Regions from separate parts of the Homo sapiens genome. Here region 2 is linked to region 1. Evidence: promoter capture Hi-C in 16 types of primary human blood cells and fetal thymus (Javierre and others, 2016). All regions are on one chromosome and are shown on one strand. The core of a region is centred on a gene start or on the middle of the fragment in contact, and the rest is flanking DNA. Distances in the headings are between cores, read along the strand shown. Region 1 holds the start of AACS (acetoacetyl-CoA synthetase). Region 2 overlaps DHX37 (DEAH-box helicase 37).

What was found. Contacts are between HindIII fragments. The CHiCAGO score rates a contact against its expected background, and 5 or more counts as called.
Region 2: a contact is called between a fragment that was not itself captured here and the fragment with the promoter of AACS in region 1, in 1 of 17 cell types (neutrophils). The highest score is 5.2, in neutrophils.

What each region holds. Positions count from the first base shown.
Region 1 is chr12:125,063,822-125,067,268 of GRCh38, reverse strand. AACS (acetoacetyl-CoA synthetase) reads right to left here and starts at 1,834. Exons shown (of 18, transcript NM_023928.5): 1 at 1,552-1,834. The coding sequence starts at 1,684. LOC105370052 (a long non-coding RNA gene) reads left to right here. Exons shown (of 4, transcript XR_001749365.2): 3 at 2,159-2,266. RefSeq lists a silencer at 1,574-2,193. The HindIII fragment of the contact is 11,218 bases long and covers 1-3,447 here.
Region 2 is chr12:124,971,304-124,974,944 of GRCh38, reverse strand. DHX37 (DEAH-box helicase 37) reads left to right here. Exons shown (of 27, transcript NM_032656.4): 7 at 2,346-2,442; 8 at 3,530-3,641. Among named protein-coding and RNA genes, the nearest start is that of DHX37, 16 kb to the left of the region's middle. The HindIII fragment of the contact is 4,811 bases long and covers 1-3,641 here.

The sequences.
Region 1 (3,447 bases), core at 585-3,084:
TGTCCAGAAGCCCCTGGGGCAACAGACTACACCTGTCTCCAAGGGAGAGGAAGGGAAGGAGAGGAACAGCTCTGGGTTAGCCTAGGAAAATGACTCTGTGGAAGCTCCCCACTGCTGTGGAGGGCCTGGAAGCTGCCAGGCAGCCGTCTGCAATTTTGTGGTCAACAAGGAACCACTGAGAACTTCTGAGCCAAGGAGTGACAAAGTAAGACCTGTATGCTTCAAGATTACTCTGGCAAAGCAAGCAGGATGCAAATGGATGGAAAAGCAGGAAGCAGGAAAACCAACCACTGTTTGGTGAGGAGGAAAGGAGGCCCCAGAACCCCTGACAAGGGGCTGCAAAGGAGGAGATGTGAGCGACATGGGGCTGTGGCAGAAGACTTCTGGTGCCACAGGTGACTGGGGTGTCCATCCCTGTGAGCCTGAGCAAGAACAGTGACGCCACCAACAGAAACAAGGGAGTCCCTGCGCCAGCGGAGGGGGTGAGGAGGGGAGACCATGAGTTAAAAATCCCCTAGGAGGCCAGGCGCCGTGGCTCACACCTGTAATCCCAGCACTTTGGGAGGCCAAGGCGATCGGATCACCTGAGGTCAGGAGTTCGAGACCAGCCTGACCAACATGGAGAAACTCCGTCTCTACTAAAAATACAAAATTAGCCAGGCGTGGTGGTGTATGCCTGTAATCCCAGCTACTCGGGAGGCTGAGGCAGGAGAATCACTTGAACCCGGGAGGCGGAGGTTGCAGTGTGCCGAGATCTCGCCATTGCACTCCAGCCTGGGCAACGAGAGAGAAACTGTCTCAAAAAAAAAAAAAAAAAATCCCCTAGGAATACCTAGGGGAGGCAGGGTGGAGGGGTGGAGCTGGTAGTTGGGCAAGCCAGCTAGAGCTCAGGAAGAGCACCCGGAGCGGTTACCCCACGGAGAAGGAGCCTTTGCCCCACCCGCACCGAGAGAGGCAGTTTCTGAGGTTCAAGGTGATGGGTGGAAAGAGAGTCTTTTACTAGGTTCTGTTTGGGGGCTGGGAGTGTAGACACGTGGACAGGGCCTCCTGCCTGACCATCCTGCTAGGTGCTGGCCTCCAGCAGGGGCAGCTGGAGATGAGGGAGGTCAGGGGGACAGAGTGCACGGCACTGGGGACTGGCAAGGGACCCCCACAAACAGAGGAAGAGCTGCAAGTCAAAAAGGCCCTATGTCCGGGGGAAGCCCCCACAGGCCGGAGGTCAAGACTCCAGGGAGCACCTCACAGGTAGGAAAGCCTAGCAAGGGGTCACACGGTCAACAGGCAGCTGGCCCTCCCGAGGGGTGACACTCCCGGGGAGAGGGTGACCCCCACATGCAGAGGAGACGCTGCAGAGTCAGGAAGTGCCAGGAGGTGCTGTGGAGGGGTGATGTTCCCCAAGACTGGGGGGAACCCCGCAGTCAGAAGGCCTCCCCGCCATCAAGTGGCTCCTCCAGCCCCAGAAGCGTGAAACTAGCCATGGGGAGACCACCCAACCACCCTGCACGGCTCCCGCCCATCCCCCGCAGGCCCGGCCGCGCGCCCGACTCTCACCCAGCGCCAGGCCGCAGGCGGCGCCCACAGCCGCCCGGAAGCGGTCCATCTGCGTGTTCTTCTTACTGTCAGGCTCCCACATCACCTGGCACTCCAGGATCTCCTCCCGACCGGGGCGCTCCTCCTTGGACATGGCGGCGGCGGGCGGCCGGGGCTGCGACGAGGGCTGGGGACCAGGGGCCGGGGCTGAGGCGAGGGCCGGGGACCTGGGACCGGAGGAAGCGACGGTCAGGAGCGCCTGGCGGGCTGGGTCAGCGACGGCGGCGGCGGGGAACAAGGGACTGAACGGCCGCCGCCGCCTCCTGCGGGCCGCTTGGCCCAGGCCCCGCCCCGCAGGCCCCGCCTCGAATCCCCGCCCCCTTCCAGGCCCCGCCCTCCCGCCTGTAACCCTCCGCTGAGTGCAGCGCCGCTCAAAGGAGTGCTCGCAGCCGCCGGCTCCAGCGCCCGCGGCCGGGGGGCGTGGGGGTGAGGGGCGCTCACGAGCCTTGGCCCCAGCTCCCCGACCTCACCTGGAGCTGGAGGGCGTTAGGGCAGCCGGAGAAGCCAGGCGTCCGAGCCCGCTGTTTCCTACACGTGTACATCATTCATTCGCTATTTCTTCCTGCAGGTCTTTACTGAGAGCCTGCGGCATTCGGAGGACTTTGGGAGCTTTGCGGATACAGCAGCGAACAAAACAAAATTCTTGTTCTCTGTCAACAGGAGAGGAGGGGTACAGGTGTGAGGAAGACGGGAGACGATTAACAAATAAGTACATCGTGTACATACACAAGATAATGTCATAGTATAATACAATAATATACATAGTATGCCAATGGGTATCAAAATACACATTTGTGAAAGGAAAATAAATCTTGGGGCCCCACTACTAAGCTAAAGGGAAAAGAAAAGCTGGGAACTGCTTAGGGCTAACCTGCCTCCATTCTATTCAAAGTCACCCCTCTGCTGAGTTAAATGCACACCTGATTGCCTCCTTTGCAGAGGCTAATTGAAAACTCAAAAGAATGCAGCCATTTGTCCCTTATCTACCTATGACCTGGAAGGCCCCCTCCCCGCCTTAGCTTTTTTTTTTTTTTTGAGTCTCACTCAGTCGCCCAGGCTGGAGTGCAATGTCCCAATCTCAGCTCACTGTAACCTCTGCTTCCCAGGTTCAAGCGATTCTCCTGCCTCAGCCTCCTGAGTAGCTGGGATTACAGGCACACGCCATCATGCCCAGCTAATTTTTCGTGTTTTTTTTTTTGTTGTTGTTGTTGTTTGTTTTGTTTTTTTGAGACGAAGTTTCGCTCTTGTTACCCAGGCTGGAGTGCAATTGCGAGATCTCGGCACACGGCAACCTCCATCTCCCAGGTTAAAGCAATTCTCCTGCCTCAGCCTCTCGAGTACCTGGGATTACAGGCATGTGCCACCACGCCTGGCTAATTTTGTATTTTTAGTACAGACAGGGTTTTTCCATGTTGGTCAGGCTGGTCTCCAACTCCCGGCCTCAGGTGATCCGCCCGCCTCAGCCTCCCAAAGTGCTGGAATTACAGGCGTGAGCTACCGAGCCCGGCTCATTTTTGCATTTTTGTAGAGACGGGATTTCACCATGTTGGCCAGGCTGGTCTTGAAGTCCTGACCTCAGGTGATCCACCCGCCTCGGCCTCCCAAAGTGCTGGGATTACAAGAGTGAGCCCAGGTCTGAGAGCACCCCCTCCAGAGCCTCCCTGATCTCCCAAAATTTGGTGGAGATCTAAAGTTTATTTTGCTGTACAACTCTTTTCTTTGCAGTTTTACTTGCTTCCAACAAGGAAGGCAAGGTTTCCTGCTTCCATGACAATGGAAGGCAGGTAACTCCTTTATGGAGTTTGAGCTCGCTTCCAACAGGGAAGATGAGGTCTTTTTTCCTGCTTCTAGAATGGT
Region 2 (3,641 bases), core at 879-3,378, 93 kb after region 1:
ATGAGCCAGGTGTGGTGGCACATGCCTGTAATCCCAGCTACTCGGGAGGTTAAGGCAGGAGAATCACTTGAACCCGGGAGGCAGAGGTTGCCGTAAGCCAAGATCGCACCATTGCACTCCAGCATGGGCAACAAGAGTGAAACTCTGTCTCAAAAAAAAAAAAAAATCTTCAGGCGGTAAGTCTGTAGGACTTGCTTTGGAAAGCAGCCTTGAACAGGCAGATATAGCACTTGCTTTACAATGGCTGGGAGCATATGTTTATAATGCAGAGGCCTGTGTCTAACATGTCCAGCATGGTCTAAAATCCAGAAGGCACAAAAGAGCACAGAGTGAGAGCCTGCCTCATCTGCCCACTCAGCAGATGTTACTAGGCAGCATCTAGTGTGCCAGGCCCATCCTGGGCTCTCAGGACGTGGTGGTGGACCAGACAGAGCCACCGGCCCCCGGGTCAGCATGCCAGTTGGGGGACTTGTTGTCTTTGTACGTTAGGCTCGGAGGACGCTAAGGCAGGGATGGAGTACTGGGGGCCCCTTCTCACCCAATGCCCTGCCTCCTCTCCAGGAGCAGCCACCACTGACCATCTCCTGCACGTCCTCCTGGACAATTCTGTGCATAGTTGGCATGCGTCTAGGAAAAGCTGCCTCATTCTCTTTTTAACTTGTTAAATATTATAAAAATTTGGGGACTGGGTGGCCGGGTGCGGTGGCTCACGCCTGTAATCCCAGCACTTTGGGAGGCCGAGGCAGGTGGATCATGAGGTCAGGAGATCGAGACCATCCTGGCTAACACGGTGAAACCCCATCTCTTGAAAAAAATACAAAAAATTAGCCGTGCGCAGTGGCGGGTGCCTGTAATGCCAGCTACTCGGGAGGCTGAGGCAGGAGAATGGCGTGAACCCAGGAGGCAGAGCTTGCAGTGAGCCGAGATTGAGATAGCACCACTGCAGTCTGGCCTGGGCGAAAGAGCGAGACTCCGTCTCAGAAAAAAAAAAAAAAATTTGGGGACTGGGCACGGCGGCTCACGCCTGTAATCCCAGGACTTTGGGAGGCCGAGGCAGGTGGATCACCAGAGGTTGGGAGTTTGTGACTAGCCTGACAAACATGAAGAAAACCCATCTCTACTAAAAATACAAAAAAATTAGCTGGGTGTGGTGGCACATGCCTGTAATCCAGCTATTCAGGAGGCTGAGGCAGAAGAATCCCTTGAACCCGAGAGGCGGAGGTTGCCATGAGCCGAGATCACGCCATTGCACTTCAGCCTGGGCAACAAGAGTGAGACTCCATCTCAAAAAAAAAAAAAAAAAAAAGCGTTGGGGGGGGCGCATATACATAAGTAGAAAGGATAGTATAATGAGCCCCCAGGTACCCAAGACCCAGTTGTAATAATTGTCAACTCTTGCCCTAGCCTGTTGGATCTGTACTCTCCTCCTGGCCCCCCTCCCCCCCACTGTTTAGAAGCAAATCTTAGGTATCTTATTTTATCCTCAATATTTTGCTGTACAGATCTGAGAGATAAGAACTAATTTTTTTTTTTTCTTTTTTGAGACGGAGTTTCACTTTGTCACCCAGGCTGGAGTTCAGTGGTGCGATCTTGGCTCACTGCAACCTTTGCCTCCTGGGTTCAAACGATTCTCCTGCCTCAGCCTCCCGAATAGCTGGAATTGCAGGTGCCCGGCTAATTTTTGTATTTAGTAGAGATGGGGTTTCACCATGTTGGCCAGGCTGGTCTTGAACTCCTCACCTCAGGTGATCCACCCACCTCGGCCTCCCAAAGTGTTGGGATTACAGGCGTGAGCCATTTTTTGTTTTTTGAGATGGCTCTATTGCCCAGGCTGGAGTGCAGTGGTGCCATCTTTGCTCAGTGCAGCCTCAACCTCTTGGGCACAAGTAATTCTCCCACCTCAGCCTCCTGAGTAGCTGGGACTACAGGTGCACACCACCACACCAGATTAATTTTTGAATTAAGATAAGGACTTTTTGTGAAACACATACAGCTGCAGTACCCCGATGATAGTTGCCAAGTCTGTGAAGTCTCTGGAACACACTCCAGCCCATGTGCAGGTCTCCCCGGTGTCTCCTGGCATAGTCACCATCCGAGGAGGGCTCTGGCCGAGGTGTTCAGGGCCTGGCTCCTCAGTTGCCCTTAACAGCTCCTTCCCTTCCCTTCAGAAACCAGGATTTTGGAGGGGGAGAGTGGACTGGGGAGATGTCTGGGACTTGTTTCAGGTTGCCAGCGGGCCCTGCCCTCAAGCCGCCTGCCTGCTCCACGGCCTGCCTTGTAGTGGCCCCGTGGCGACAGCCCCAGCCAGGCACGGCTCTGCCCTAACCCGAACTCTGCCCATACAGGGTCGTCTCCTACCAGATCCGGTATGAAGGAAACGTGACAGAGGAGACCAGAATCAAGTTCATGACGGATGGTGTGCTGCTTAAAGAAATCCAGAAGGTTGGTTGTGGATCCTGGCTCACAGAGCAAGGCCAGTGGGCATGGGGGCGGGATGCTAGGATGTCACCTGGGATATGAGCAGCCGGCAAGCCACCTGTTGATCCAGCACTCCCACGGTGCTGCTGTGTGACTTTGGGTGAGTTACTTAACCTCTCCAAGCTCAGTTTCTTGATGAGTATGTTGGTGCATTCCTTAGAGAATCATTTTGAAGCGGAAGTTGTAGAGTGCATGCTGACAGCTTAGCACAGTGGCCCGTACCTAGAAGGTGCTCGTGAAATGTGAACTTGTATTTTTATTGTGACTGACTCACAGAGTTCACGCCTTGCCGGGGGTGTACTGAAAGCCTGTGGTGTGCAGGCTCTGCCCTGCGGCGGGTCCAGACACAGCCCCCTCTTGGGAGCTTCGAGTCCAGTTGCGTTTGGTGAGGGGCAGCACCAGACTCGGAGTGGGGTACCAGCCTCAGGCTGAGGGAAAGGGGAGGGGCCGCTGGGGCTTGCCCTTGAGCGTCTTCACGGTCCCTGGCCTCAGAAGCTGCGTCCCAAGGACTTTCCATTTGTAAATCGGAACCCCAGCTGCTGCCTCCCTAGTCAGCCCACTTGGGCCTTGGGGAAGCACCCCATGCTTCCTAGGGAGCCGGCCATTCGGTCAAGTGGGTGGCACGCGTGTCCAGAGAGCATGCAGGGCCCGGGTGGGGGACTGCTGTCTGGTGAAGAAGCTGTGCTCCGTGCTGGCTGTGACGTCCCCTTGGGCAGGGCCAATCTCCCAGGGGGATGGCAAAGGTGATTCCAGCCCTCCTGGCTTTGAAGCCACTGGGACTCCTGGGGGTGGCAGTGGATGCAGTTTGGGTCTGGGTGGCCCCTGTCTGTGTGGCACCTGCTGTCCAACTGCCCACGGCCCCACCCCACATCTCATGTCCATTTCCCACCTGCCCTCCCACTCTGCGGGCATCTGAGTTGAGCAGCTCACCTCTGATGAAGAGCAGCTGCCCTTCCTCTAACACTGTCTCCTCAAGTGGGAGTTCTGGGACGTGAAGCGGCCCTTGGGGCTTAGGCTGGAAGGGTGGGCCTCACCCCGGACCTCCCCCCAGGACTTCCTGCTGCTGCGGTACAAGGTGGTGATCATCGACGAGGCCCACGAGAGGAGCGTGTACACGGACATCCTCATCGGCCTCCTGTCCCGCATTGTGACTCTCCGGGCTA